Regions from separate parts of the Homo sapiens genome. Here all the other regions are linked to region 2. The links are contacts of gene promoters, found by promoter capture Hi-C in human tissues and cell types (Jung and others, 2019). All regions are on one chromosome and are shown on one strand. The core of a region is centred on a gene start or on the middle of the fragment in contact, and the rest is flanking DNA. Distances in the headings are between cores, read along the strand shown.

Region 1 (2,882 bases), core at 133-2,632, 170 kb before region 2:
GCGATCTTCCTGCCTCAGCCTCCCAAAGTGCTGGGATTACAGTCATAAGCCTCCGCGCCCAGCCCAGAGCACACTTTTTTTTTTTTTTATACGGAGTCTCACTCTGTCACCCAGGCTGGAGTTCGGTGGCAAGATCTCGGCCCAGAGCACACTTTTAACCACCATATCATTATGCCTCTGGGTAGGTCAGTCAAGCTCTGTAGCTGATCAGATGTCTGTAGAGAGAAGGAGACATCGGTCTCCCCTTCTTCCAAACACCCCCGAATTTTACAAGTGATTTTCTCAGATCCCTCAGCATCAGGAATGGGGATGAGCAGGGCAGCCTGTCCCCTTCCCAACAGCCCAGCAGATATCCGAAGATTACATCTCATTGGCTCTGACTAGGACATGAGCCCAAAGCTGAACCAGTTGCTGTAGCCATGGCATGCAGCATCCTCTGTCCTCTGGCCAGGCCAGAGCCACATCCCACCTCTGGATCCTCGAGTTGAGTGAATACATCTTGAACCAGGCACGGACTGAAGCTCAAGGGGGAGTCAGAGTAATGTGACCCAGCCCAGCATGTAGTGGGTGCTGAGCAGGCAAGCATTCATCACCCACTGCACACACCAGGGAAGGCTTGTGGTGGCTTAGTCCCACCTGGGGGCAAAGGAAAGAGTGCCTGCTCCGTGCCAAAATGTGATGCCCCACACTGTATCTTAAAGCTAGCTGGCTTTGTAATCCCAGCTACTTGGGAGGCTGAGGCAGGAGAATCACTTGAATCCAGGAGGCAGAGGTTGCAGTGAGCCAAGATCACGCCATTGCACTCCAGCCTGGGTGACAAGAAAGAAATTCTCTCTCAAAAAAAAAAAAAAAAAAAGCTAGTCGACTTAATCCTCGCAAAGATGCCATCTACTTTTTGGCATTCTACAGGTAGAAACACTGAGACACTGGAAAATTTAAAAACTCACAACCAGCCGGGTGCAGTGTCTCTTGCGTGTAATCCCAGCAGTTTGAGAGGCTGAGGCAGGAGAATCACTTAAACCCAGGAGTTCAGGACAAGCCTGGGCAAATTAGCGAGACCTCATCTCTACAAAGACTAAAAAAAAAAAAAAAAAAAAAAAAATTAGGGCTAGGCGCGGTGGCTCACACATGTAATCCCAGCACTTTGGGAGGTCAAGGCAGGTGGATCACTTCAGCCCAGGGGTTCGAAACCAGCCTGGCCATCACGACAAAACTCTATCTCAATTAAAAATGCAAAACTTAGCTGAGCATAGTGGCACGTGTCTATAATCCCAGCTACTTGGGAGGCTGAGGCAAAAGAATTGCTTGAACCCAGGAGTCAGAAGTTGCAGTGAGCTGAGATCGTGCCACTGCACTCCAGCCTAGGTGAGAGAGTGACACCGTGTCTCAAAAAAATATATATATATAGGTATGGTGGTACATGCCTGTGGCCCCAGCTACTCAAGAGGCTGAGGTAGGAGGATCGCTTAAGCCCAGGAGTTCAAGGGTGCAATGAGCTATGATTGTACCACTGCACCACTATATATACACATATATATATGTATATGTATATAGGTATGTCTATATATACACATATATATACATGTATATGTATGTATATATATGTGTATATATATAAAAAACACACATGCACAGATTCACCACCAACAACTCAGAAATTACCGTCTCCCTCTATTCTAAGGAATTATTTTTCATTTTGCCATCTCTGAAGTTGTAATACACCTTACAATCACTGGAATGTCACAGTCTCGTTGGCGGCATTTTTCTGCTTAGTAGCCCATAAAATAATAGTACATCTTGTAACTAACAGTGTTGTAGATGCTATGAGATCCTGGGGAATCCCAGAATCTAACTCCACCCTGTCTGACTCCAAAGACCACATATTTTCTATGTCTTTGGACTGGGGCACAGATGTAGACAACTCGAGCTTTGCTGATTGTGAGAAAGGTATGAGAAATGGCCCTGATGGAATTTTCTTATTGTACGTGAAGGGGAAGAAAGCAGCATCATCCCACTATTCCAGGGGAGGTGCTAAATACGAGGGTGAGGCTGTCAAGCGGTCCCTGGTGGAGTCCTACACTCACCAAAATAACAACGAGACAGAGCAGAGGGAGAACATCGATACCGTCATGAACTGCTTCACCAAGGAAGACTTTGACTTTGTGACTCTGTACTACAGACAGCCAGATAACGTAGGACATCGATTCAAGCCAGAGGCAGAGAATAGGAAGTTGATGATTCAGCAACTCGACAGGACCATCTGGTATCTGGTGGGAGCCACTGAGAAGCACAGCCTGCAGAGCACCTCAGGTCATCATCACATGAGACCATGGGATGATGACCGTGAAGAAGAGACCCAATGTCAACAAGATCCCTTGTCCAACTACATCAAGTTCAGGGACTGGGTCAAGTTTGATATTGTGGGCTATGGTGGCTTTGGGCTGCCCCTACCCAAACTGGGGCAAGAAGAAGCCCTTTACCAGGCACTGAAGAATGCGCACCCTCACCTCCACATCTACAAGAAGGAGGAGTTTCCAGAACACTTCCATCTCGCTAAACATGACCGGGTTCTGCCAATCGTGATGTATGCCAACTCTAGTTACAGTATCAATGGGATAAGTTCATTCTAAAATGAATAAAGTCACCTTGGATCTAGGAGACAACCATTAGGGAAGGGTGGTTCTGCAAAAATCAAACATGAGTGCACAGCCAGGCACAGTGGCTCACGCCTATAATCCCAGCACTTTGGGAGGCTGAGGCAGGTATATCACCTGAGGTCAGGAGTTTGAGACCAGCCTGGCCAACATGGTGAAACCCCATCTGTACTAAAAATACAAAACTTAGCCGGGCGTGGTGGCGTGCATCTGTAGTTCCAGCTACTC
Region 2 (2,700 bases), core at 201-2,700:
TGTCTAGCCTGGAATGCAGCCATACGATAACGGCTCACTGTACTCACGGTACGATTACCTCCAACTCCCCGTGCTCAAGTGATTCTCCCGCCTCAGCCTCCTGAGTAGCTGGGGCCACAGCTGTGTGTGCCACCACCTGGCTAATTTTTTTTTTTTTTTTTTTTTGAGACAGAGTTTCGCTCTTGTCGCCCAGGCTGTAGTGCAATGGCATGATCTCGGCTCACTGCAACCTCTGCCTCATGCCTCAGCCTCCCAAGTAGCTGGGATTACAGGCACCCACCACCATGCCTGGATAAATTTTGTATTTTTAGTACAGACGGGGTTTTGCCATGTTGCCCAGGCTGGTCTTACACTCCTGACATCAGGTGATCCACTCGCCTCAGCCTCCCAAAGTGCTGGGATTATAGGTGTGAGCCACCGCGCCCACCCTAATTTTTTTTTTTTTTTTGGTAGAGACAGGGTCTCCCTATGTTGCCCAGGCTGGTCTTGAACACCTAGGCTCAAGCAATCTGCCCCCCTTGGCCTCCCAAAGTGTTGGGGTTACAGGTGTGAGCCACTGCACCCAGCTGACAAAGAAGCTCTTGAACAAATTCATTTAATGAGATTCTCTAGCACTAAAATAGTCCTACCTCATTGTAATGTTTTGTAGAGTATCTTATAAAACAATGAAAAAAAACCAGTATTTTAATACATATTTTTCTGTATATTTCCTTCTAGCCTTTGTACATATGATCACATATTTGTAAAAAGTTGTATGTATATATATACAACTTTACCCGCTTTGTGTGATGATATGACAAAAACATTTATCTGAAAAAAGTATTTTTTTCATCAAATGGCAGAGCTCCTGTTTCTGGTAACCCGGGGTATGGCAAGTAGGGGCTCTGGGAGATGGAGCAGCTCAGCCTCCTGTGAAAAATTCTGTTTCTCTAAAAAAGAACAAATTCTCATGCTGGGCGCGGTGGCTCACGCCTGTAATCTCAGCACTTTGGGAGGCCGAGGCGGGCGGATCACGAGGTCAAGAGATCGAGACCATCCTGGCTAACACGGTGAAACCCCGTCTCTACTAAAAATGCAAAAAATTAGCCGGGCGTGGTGGCGGGCGCCTGTGGTCCCAGCTACTCAGGAAGCTGAGGCAGGAGAATGGCGTGAACCCGGGAGGTGGAGCTTGCAGTGAGCCGAGATCGCGCCACTGCACCCCAGCTTGGGTGACAGAGCCAGACTCTGTCTCAAAAAAAAAAAAACGAATTCCCAAAACTAGTCCCACTGTTGTCTACCCAGATCCGGGATCCGGGTTGCCCTTGGCCTGGCCAGAGATGCCTCTCAATCCCCCACGGCACGTAGAGCCAGACAGAAACCGAAAGCAGAGGTGCCCTGCGCTGAAGTCTAGAGATCCCACTGCTAGGTCCAAAGAATTTACCCTTTCAGTCAACCCACGGGGCAAAGTCCACTTTCTTCCCTGAAGGAGCAGCACAGAACAAAAGCTCCAGGCAGCTGCTTCCGCTGTTTCGGGGGTAGGGCGGAGTGACAGCCCCACGGGCCACGCAGCAAGCAGAAGATCCCCGGGAGTCACCCTCAACCCTCTGGGGCCACGTGGGTGAGTTCGCCCGGGGAAGGTGCCGCGGCCCACTGCTTTACCTTAGTGAGCCTCAAGAAGTTAGGATCAGAATCCCAGTCGGCCCCATCTGGGTCGCCAGAGTTTTGTTACCCACACAACGGGTGGGCTCAGTTGCTTGGCGGGTGTTAACTAAAGAGGATTTAATAGGGGATTTTATTTCTTGCAACAAGTAAGGAGAACACCTAGACAGCTCCCAAAGCAGTGTCTCCCCGAGCTGAGGGCTGGGGCAGGTTTTATAAGCATAGGGTAATGAGGCGTGATCTGATTGCATCTTGCAATGAGGTGATGCTGGGAGGCATGATCTAATTGGATGCTGACACAGGGGGGAACCACAGCTCTGACCCCTCTCTGGGTCTCAGTTTCCCCAACTGCAGTGAGGAAATTGGCCCCCGTGATGATGCCCATGACATCACCATCCTCTGCCCTCACTCATGCTGGGGTCTCCATGTGCCCATTTTCAAGCTTGTGCCCGCCCTTTGTTCCTCACTCCCCACAGCTGCCCTTGGCCAGGACTTTCACAGGGTGGAGCCAAGGCCCAGAGAGGGCACTGAATCTCTCCAGGTCACACAGCCTGTCAGGGAGGTGGGGCCAGAGCCAGGTCACACGTGTGCACACAACACACACACACGCACACATGCTCACGCACATGCACGCACACACGCTCTCAAGCACATGCACACATGCACACACATGCACACACACTCTCATGCACACACGCACACATGTACACACACATGCATGCACACATGCACACAATACTCTCATGCACATGCACACACGTACACACGCACACATGCATGCTGTCACACATGCGCACACACGCACACATGCTCTCATGCACACACGCACACATGTACACATACATGCACACATGCACACAATACTCATGCACATGCACACACATGTACACACGCACGCACACACGCATGCTGTCACGTACACATGTGAGTGCACACACGCACACACATGCTCTCATGCACACGCACACATGTACAGATGCACACATGCATGCACACACATGCACACACGCGCACACACTGCCAGGACTGGGGGCTGCTGTTTCTGAGGGTTCCTGGACCCCG
Region 3 (2,852 bases), core at 189-2,688, 140 kb before region 2:
GCACTCCAGCCTTGGGAACAGAGTAAATCTCTGTTTAAAAAAAAATAATAAATGAGGCTGAGGCAGGACCATCACTTGAGGCCATGCATTCAGGACCCCATCTCTACAAAATAAAAAAATTACTAGCATGGTGGCACGCACCTGTCATCCCAGCTACTCAGGAAGTGGGAGGATTGCTAGAGCCCAGGAGTCGAGGCTGTAGTGAGCAATGACTGTGCCACTGCACTCCAGCCTGGGTGACAGAACAAGATCGTATCTCAAAAAAAAAAAAAAAAAGAATCATTCTGGCTAACGGCTCTTCAGACATCTGTGCTTATGAGAACACCAGCCCCTTCTAAGCTGTGTGTGTGCGTGTGTGTGTGTGTGTAATTTTTTTTTTTTTTTTTTTTTTGAGATGGAGTCTCACTCTGTCACTCAGGCTCAAGTGCAGTGGCACAATCTCGGCTCACTGCAACCTCCGCCTCCTGGGTTCAAGCAATTCTCCCGCCTCAGCCTCCCAAGTAGCTGGGATTACAGGCACCCACCATCGTGCCTGCCTAATTTTTGTATTTTTGTAGAGATGAGGTTTTACCATGTTGGCCAGGCTGGTTTCGAACTCCTGATCTCAAGTGATCCACCCGCCTTGGCCTCCCAAAGTGTTGGGATTACAGGCGTGAGCCACTGTGCCTGGACGCTTTCTAAGCTTTGTGAATAGTGGGTTGACTGAGCAGCCAGGTAGATGTGGGTTCAGATCTCTGCATCTGTCCCGCTGTGCCAAGTGCTGGGGCAGATGCGGGCAGAGAGTGGACAGCGGCACGGTGCCTGCTGCTAGCCATTTCTATGCAAAACCAGATTTCTTGTCCCATCCTGGAGGCCAATTCTAGGCACCTGGGTGGGCCTGGGAACCTGTGAACCAAGTAAACTGACTTGGACACACCCCCCACCCCGCCAGGCCTGTCCTAGCAGCCCCACACAATACGCTCATGTCCTGTCCCCAAACACTGCCATCCTGAAACACATGTCCTCTGTTTCCAGGCCGGGCTGGGATCAGATGGGAAGTGGAACCTCGTCATGACCAGAAACTGTTTCCCTACGAAGAGCACTTGGAGATGGCAATGCTGAACCTCACACTGTAGGACTCACATACGACTCCAACGGGATTGTGAGAATCAAGTCACTCTAGTGGGAAGAGTTTTTATATGGGAAAGCGGATAAAACTTTCATTGGACTGGAATGTTTGGAGAATGTTAATTTCCAAATCAGGAACCACAAACTGCCCTCTAATAAGACATCAGCTATCTAAGCATGTGGGTGCTCCCTTTCTGCCAGCAGTTCTGGTTCTTAAGAAAATCGCCATCAATCAGACATGAAATCTCTGGCTCCAAAAATAGCATTTTCTTTGTGCAAATAAAAACGTGTGTATCAAGTATGATGTTCCCCCAATGTGGACACACTCGGTTCCCCACAAAGCCAAGCCCGCTGCAGCTGCCACATCCCTGGACACATTCGGTTCCTCACAAAGCCAAGCCCGCTGCAGCTGCCACATCCGTGGACACACTCGGTTCTTCACAAAGCCAAGCCCACTGCAGCTGCCACATCCCTGGGCTTACAGTGCAGCAGGTGCTTTTTTCAAGACAGGAATCAAAATGTTAGGAACACGGCGGAAAGATGACACCTGGAGAGCAAACGCAGGATGAGGAGTACTGCAGAGGTCACACGGAAGTCGCAGAACAGTAATCCGCTAGCAGGGGCATGGGGCGTGAAGAACAGAAGAAGATAGGAAGTGTTTCCGAGCCTCCAGAAAAGAAATCAGAGCCAAGCACAGCTTCCCGGGTCACAGAACCAATTCATTTACCAGGCGGCACCACTGCCGTCATTTCACCTTCTGGCCACTGGGAGGCGCTGCTCGAAAGGGTTTGCCCTGAGACTCCGAGAAGAAGCTGCGGGAAGGACAGCAGGGGTCCCGGGGTTTTAGCCTCTGGCCCAGGAGTTATGTGTCCATAACCAAATGGAGCACACTCTGCACCCAGCTCTCATCCCATCGGAGCTGCTGCGATTCCCGCAGGTTCTTCCAGAACTGGTTTAGCTTGCCCGCAGGATCAGGAAAGTTTGAGAAAAGCATCTGCAAAAAAATAAAGAGCAGAGCTTAACTCATTTCCTGTCCCCACCCCATCCCAGGTCACCACCTGGCTGACCCCAGGTCCCCGACCCAACAACAAACCCTCCCAAGTTCCTAACTCCCTCACTTGGACTCGAGACTCTTCACGCCCCAGCAGCGCTCCGCCTCCAACTTGACATCACGCTTTCTGTCCCACTTTCCCACACTTCGTGCCCTGGAGCACCTCCCGGCCTCTACACGCTGTATGTTCCCCTGCGAGCACCCTCCTCTTGGCCTCTGGCCAAGTCCCACCCATCTGTGGGTAACAAGGGGGTGTTGGTGTTCTTTTCAGCCTTGCTAAACTGTCTGAATCAAGGATCACAAACTACAGCCTGCAGGCCAAATCCAGCCCACAGCCTGTGTTTGTAAATAAAGTTTTATTGGAACAAAGCCACACCCCTTAATCGAAGATGATCTGTGGCTACTTTCACACCACAACAGAGTACCATGGTTCTGACAGAGACTAGGAGACACAGTCTAAATGACTTCTGACCTGGACCTTTACTGAAAATCCTGCCAATCATTCTGTTGGCAAGAATGATGTATTACTTTTAGCAATAAGAAACAAGTAACCTTTGCAGAATTCCACCCATCTTTCAAGGCTGGTCCCAGAAGTTCCCTTTGCCCATGCACCTACCTGATCCTGATCACTTCCGAAACTGCAGCCCGGCCCACCCGGCTCCAGCATCATTTGTGGAGTGTCAGCTCCATAAAT

The links. Contacts are between HindIII fragments. The study calls those that stand out against the background at their distance.
Region 1: a fragment that was not itself captured here is called in contact with the fragment with the promoter of ACY3 in region 2 in 2 of the 25 tissues and cell types used here (spleen and stomach).
Region 3: a fragment that was not itself captured here is called in contact with the fragment with the promoter of ACY3 in region 2 in 1 of the 25 tissues and cell types used here (H1 embryonic stem cells).

Annotation. Positions count from the first base shown.
Region 1 is chr11:67,819,634-67,822,515 of GRCh38, reverse strand. All of the region lies in intron 3 of LOC112268076 (translation initiation factor IF-2-like), which reads left to right. It also overlaps the pseudogene ENPP7P7. Among named protein-coding and RNA genes, the nearest start is that of LINC02754, 63 kb to the left of the region's middle. The HindIII fragment of the contact is 6,215 bases long and covers 1-2,882 here.
Region 2 is chr11:67,649,480-67,652,179 of GRCh38, reverse strand. ACY3 (aminoacylase 3) reads left to right here and starts at 1,450. Exons shown (of 8, transcript NM_080658.2): 1 at 1,450-1,597. RefSeq lists enhancers at 1,169-1,228, 1,299-1,378. The HindIII fragment of the contact is 14,698 bases long and covers 1-2,700 here.
Region 3 is chr11:67,791,456-67,794,307 of GRCh38, reverse strand. It overlaps the pseudogene ALG1L8P and the pseudogene FAM86C2P. Among named protein-coding and RNA genes, the nearest start is that of LINC02754, 92 kb to the left of the region's middle. RefSeq lists enhancers at 260-1,071, 1,885-2,697. The HindIII fragment of the contact is 4,732 bases long and covers 1-2,852 here.